Regions from separate parts of the Homo sapiens genome. Here region 2 is linked to region 1. The links are contacts of gene promoters, found by promoter capture Hi-C in human tissues and cell types (Jung and others, 2019). All regions are on one chromosome and are shown on one strand. Each heading gives the region's core, a stretch centred on a gene start or on the middle of the fragment in contact. The rest is flanking DNA. Distances are from core to core; before and after follow the strand shown. Region 1 holds the start of NANOS1 (nanos C2HC-type zinc finger 1). Region 2 holds the start of BAG3 (BAG cochaperone 3).

The links. Contacts are between HindIII fragments. The study calls those that stand out against the background at their distance.
Region 2: a contact is called between the fragment with the promoter of BAG3 here and the fragment with the promoter of NANOS1 in region 1, in 1 of the 25 tissues and cell types used here (IMR-90 fibroblasts).

What each region holds. Positions count from the first base shown.
Region 1 is chr10:119,028,433-119,031,162 of GRCh38, reverse strand. It overlaps NANOS1 (nanos C2HC-type zinc finger 1), which reads right to left and starts at 1,449. Exons shown (of 1, transcript NM_199461.4): 1 at 1-1,449. The coding sequence starts at 1,361. The coding sequence ends at 483. It overlaps LINC03036 (long intergenic non-protein coding RNA 3036), which reads left to right and starts at 1,592. Exons shown (of 4, transcript NR_186540.1): 1 at 1,592-1,818. RefSeq lists silencers at 378-677, 1,048-1,257, 1,378-1,847 and an enhancer at 1,672-2,172. The HindIII fragment of the contact is 19,263 bases long and covers 1-2,730 here.
Region 2 is chr10:119,649,956-119,652,655 of GRCh38, reverse strand. BAG3 (BAG cochaperone 3) reads right to left here and starts at 1,276. Exons shown (of 4, transcript NM_004281.4): 1 at 801-1,276. The coding sequence starts at 980. RefSeq lists a silencer at 1,224-1,523 and enhancers at 1,724-1,803, 1,184-2,138. The HindIII fragment of the contact is 7,134 bases long and covers 1-2,700 here.

The DNA.
Region 1 (2,730 bases), core at 200-2,699:
TCGCTTCAAACAATAAAATAGTCATTTTGCCGACATTTCATAAAATCGCCAGTTTTAAGCTCAGTTCAGAGGCTTTTAAAAAAATATTCTAGACCTAGTAAAGTGCCTCCATTCATAAAATGAAACATCCAAGATTGAGACAATTTCATACTGATGCGCATCTAAAATAGGTCGACGTATACAGTAAATAAACAGCGCCTCTAAGTTGCCATATTTCAGTTAGTGGAATACACACCCAGCCTTCGCCGTTCTGGATGTGCAAACTAGAAACTGAAGACAAATGGGGATTTCAGCGTCTAGTCCCAATCGTTCAGCACGGAAGTACTCCACACGGTCGGCTGCTTTTCAAAAACCACCAGGACGACGTCCCATGTCGAGCCGACCGCTGAGCCGCACGCCTCCCCACGGCGGGGGCGAGATGGTGCGCAGACCTAGCGGTGCGAGGGGCGGCGGCGACCCTGGGCGGCCGGGAGCCCGGGCCTTCAGCGCAGCTTCTTGCCAGGCGGGCCGTCCCTGGCGCTGCGGGGCGGCGGGCGGGCGGGCGGCGGCGGCACTTTGGAGAGCGGGCAGTACTTGATGGTGTGCGCGTTGTCGCCGCTGGCGCCGCACAGGGGACACGTGTAGCGGCGCAGCACGGGACACAGCACTCGCCCGTCGGGGCCCTTGAGGATATGGGTGGTGTAGAGCGCCATCGCCTCCTTGTTGTTCCGGCAGAACACGCACACCTGCAGCTCGGGCTTCAGCAGCCGGGCGGCCGCCGCCCCGGAGGCCGCGTGCAGCCGGGGCTCGGCCGCCCACGCCGGGGCCCGCTCCTCGCGCGGCGTCGCCTCGCTGGTGGTGGTGGCGGCGGCGGCGGCGGCGGGCGCGCAGCCCAGCAGCACGGCGGCGGCACGACCCGCGAACGGGCTCAGCTCGGCGAAGCGCTCCTCCAGCAGCCCGGCCTCGGCGGGGCCCGCGCACAGCTCCAGCGCGCGCAATTCCAGCGCGCTCCCCAGGTAGCGGCCCCGGGACCCCGGCTCGTCGCTGTCGTCGTCGTCGTCCTCGTCGTAGTCGGGCGGCCCCAGCGCCGGCCCCAGCGCCCCAGGCCCGGCCCCCGTGTGGGGGGAGCAGCAGGACGACGAGGAGGAGGAGGGCGGGGAGCCGCCGCCGCCGTTCCCACCGCGGGCGCAGCCGAAGCGCGGCTCGCCGTCCACCGCTTTGGTGATGAGCGTGGCGAGCCCCAGGTAGTCGTTCCAGGAGCTGAAGGGCTGCGGGTGCGCCGGGCCCGGGGCGCTCACGTAGCGGGCGCTGGGCACGAGCGCCATGGGCGGGGGGGCGCGGCCGCGGCGGGGCGAGCGGGGCGCCCAGGGGAAAGCCTCCATGGGCGGGCTGCGGGCCGCGCGCCGCCTCCCCGCCGCCGGCGCGGGCCGGACGGAAGGGACACGCCGAGCCTGCCCGCCGGCCTGCCGCGGGGTGGGGCCGCCGCGCCGCCTTTTATCGGGCCCACTCCTCCCCGCCCCCCGGCCTCGCCGCCGCGGCCCTGCCCCCTGCGTTCCCCCGCCCCGGCCACCTCGCCCGCGCCCCGGACGGAGGCGGAGCGGAGGCGGGCTGGCTGTGTGCGCGCTCCGCTCCAGCCCGCGCGGCTCCCGCGCCCCGCGCGCTGCGCCAGCCTCGCCAGCTGTCGGGCGGCCTTCATTCCGGGAGGGGGCGGGCGAGGCGCCGCCTCGAGCCGTGGCGCTCATTGGCTGCAGACCAGAGCCCCCCGGCGCCTCGGGCGCCGCTCCGGACGCTGATTGGTGGGAACACGGGGAGGGGGCGTGTTCTCCGCGCAGCTGGGAGGTGAGGAGAAAGTAGGGGAGAGAAGGGCCGGGAAGGGAGGGCCGCTGGGGCCCGCATTCGAGCGCCGGGCCTGGGCTTGGAGCAGGTGACCAGGCCTGGGTCTCCTCGGCCTGGTGGTGAGGCCCCCCGAGGACAGGGGTCAGGGTGGCCACAGGTTTACGCCCCCACCTCCCAGCCTTTAATGGCCCTAGGCCCTAATCCTGAGAATCCCCGCTATCCACCCCCTTCTCACCAACATCAGCATGAAAAGCTGGACGCGTTGGAAGGATGCAGCTCTCCCATCACAGCCGCCCAACCAGCCAGTGGCTTCCGTTTGCACCGCGCGTTGGAGCGCTTTCCCCTGGGCGAAATCCATACAAACCCTGAGGTTCGGGGAGGCTGTGGTTCCTGCCGCGGTAAGAGCGGAGGGACGCAGGACTTTCCGGCTGCACGCAGCAGCCTTCCTCCCAACAGGTGCTCAGGGACTTCAGCCAATGGGTGGCCGATAGCCGGTTACTTAGGTCGGGGTTGGGGCTGGGCCGGAAAATCTCATGGCTGGAGAGCCTAGGACAGTGACTGGGATGTGTGTGTGTGTGTGTACCCCCTCGCCCCAGAGGCCTGAGTCAAAATGTGGGTTGTATGTGCAGTTTGAAAAACAACGTGTATTCAATGTTATATTTTGTCTTCCTTCCTTCCTTCCTTCCTTCCTTCCTTCCTTCCTTCCTTCCTTCCTTCCTTCCTTCTTTCCTTCCTTCTTTCCTTCCTTCCTTCCTTCCTTCTTTCCCTCCTTCCTTTTCTTTCTTTTTTTTTCTTTTCTTTCCGCATCCCGGGTTCAAGCAATTCTCCTGCCTCAGCCTTCCAAGCAGCTGGGATTACAGATGCCCGCCACCATGCCGGGCTAATTTTTTGTATTTTAGTAGAGACGGGGTTTCA
Region 2 (2,700 bases), core at 27-2,526, 620 kb before region 1:
ATCATTCTCTTTCTCTCCAGTGTGAGGCAATGTGGTAAGGCAATGGCCAACTGTAAGACAGTCTCAGATCTCTAGTCTAGATCTCTAGAAACTGCTGGGGAGAAGCACACCCTGTTTTTTATTTTACAAATCATACTAGGATACGTTCATATTGAAAGCACTTTCAAACAATAATACAATTTTAATTTAAAATACACACACACACATATATATATGAATGTTTTGACACCAGCCTCCAGAGTCATTGGGTGCCTAACATGGGACAGTAGCCAAGATACCCCTCAACCAAGTTGGAGAACTTGAGCGGTAAAATTCCCCCCAAAACCACCATCCAAGCTTGCGAGTGTCCCCCTCGAGTCCGCGGTCAGCAGGGTGCGCCGCGGGTCCCGGGCCCGGAGGCCGAGCGGGCAGCAGGGGCCACGGTGGGCCGGGGCCTCCGGAGCTGACCAGGCCGGCCGCCCCTCTCCCAGCCCTAGAGCGCGAGGCCAGCGCTGGACACCCGGCCTTCCGCCCTGGAGTCGAGCCGTGGACGGCACCGGAGCCACTGCGGGGTCGCTTCCCGGGCCACCGAATCCCGGGGCCTCCTTTCGCCCCGACGCCTGTCAAGGGCGGGTCCGGAGCGGGGACTCGTCCGGGCGCAGCGGGAGTGTGTGGCGGGGCGCGGAGCCGGTGTCCGCCCGCGAGGGGCCTTCGCCGACCCCCGGGCCCCGCCGCCTCGCGTCCCCCCGGCCCAGCCCACTCCCCGCCGCCTGCCGTCGAGGTGGCGCCACCGACCAGGGCGGGCCGCGGGCCCGGCTCACCTTGGGGCCCTCAGAGGGCACGCGCGGGTCGTTCCACGTAGTGGTGCGGCTGTTGTGGTCCACGAAGAAGGGCCAGCCGGTCTGCGGGTCGATCTTGATCTCCCATCCGGGGGGCAAAGGGTCGCGGTCACCGTTGCCGGACGCCACCTGCATCATGGGCGAGTGGGTGGCGGCGCTCATGCTGGGTTGGGGTCTGCCCGCTGGGGCGCGGGTGCGGGGCGCTGGCTCCGGGCGCCGAGTCTCTGGCCGGGCCGCCGCCGTGGGCCCCTCTCCGCCGCCGACGTGTCCGGGAAGCCGGCGCCGGGCACCTTTATGAATTAAAGGCGGGGGTGACGTGGCCAGAGAGGGGTGGAAGTGTCTGGAAATAGCCTCCTCGCTGCCAGAGGGGAAGGAGGAGATAAAGGGAGGTAGCAACTGGCCGGCTAGAAACTTCTGGTCCAGTCCAGAGAAGTTGGCCGCGGCCCGGGGTTGGATGCGGAGCTCCGCCCTGAGTCATCGGCTATAATCGCGGCGGGCGGGGCAGAGGAGCGGGGGCGGGGCCTCGGCCCGCTCGCCCCTCCCCCACCTCCTCCCGCCCCTCCCCCTTCCGACTCGTGCGCGTGCCCGGGCCGGAGTCGCCGCGGGCGGGCGCGGGCGCGGCTTCGGGGTCCGCCTGCGGGTGGGAAGCCGGACGAGCTGGACTGGGGCCGTCCTCCGTGCGCCCCGGGCGGGTTTCGGCTTTCATAGTCGCTCTCTCCCTCTCCTTTGCGCCGAGTGAGTGTTCCCGGGGCCGGAGCCCGTGCTCCCCGTGCCTGCCGCCCGTCCTTCCTGTACAAACAAAACCATCTCGCCCACCTCCACCCCCTCCCCCATATATGATAGCCGAGGACCCTGAGGGCTGTCCGGGAGGAGCGCGGGGACTCTCATCTGACACCGGAAGGAAGCCAGGGAGAAAATGGAAGTCAGTGCAAACTCACCTGCCTTCCTTTGGAAACTTCAAGAAAAAAAGAGATTGTATCAACTGATGGCTTTTAGTCTCCTAGACTAAAAAGAAAGTTTCGTTGCAGCTTTAAAGATAAATCACATTTTCTTGGGTCTGGATCTTTTTTATGGTAGAGATTGGTTCTTGCTATCTTATATCTTGACCCTGATTTGGGAAGTAAAGACCGAATAACCATGACATTTTTTGTTTGGTTTATTCAATTGCACTTGTAACCTGTCAAAGGAGAAAATTACAACACATTTAAAGATCTTTTTTGTTGTTGTTGTTGTTGATTTTCATTTTTTAACTTTTATTGTTAAAGATCTTATTTGTGATTCTAGAAATTGGGCAACATCTCCATTAAATTAGAATAAGTGCTCCCATGAGCTGAGCAGAAGAGGTTGGTTTTATAGACAGAGAAGGGCTGAAGAAAGCAGAAACAAAGAACCAAGACTGGATTGGTTGTTTCAAAATTACTTTCCTTGTAAGGAGGGGACAGAGAGACAGAATCATAGAAAAATAACTGATGAGGGCTTGCCACCATGGCTCATGCCTATAATGCCAGCACTTTGGAAAGTCAAGACTGGAGGACCTCTTGAGTCCAGGAGTTTGAGACCAGCCTGGACAACACAGTAAGACCCCCATCTCTGCATAAACAAAAAATAAGCCAGGTGCAGTGGCTTATGCCTGTAGTCCCAGCTACTCAGGAGGCTGAGGTGGGAGGCTCATTTGAGCCCAGGAGTTTGAAGCTGCCATGAGCTATGATTTTGCTCTTCATGCCAACCTAAGCGACAGAGCAAGACCCTATCTCTTTAAAAGAAAGAGAGAGAAAGAAAGAGAGAAATGATTGAGAGAAATGTAACATCAGGTTACATACTTCAGATTACTGTACAGTTGACCCTTAACATGGGTTTGAATTGAGCAGGTCCACTTGTACAT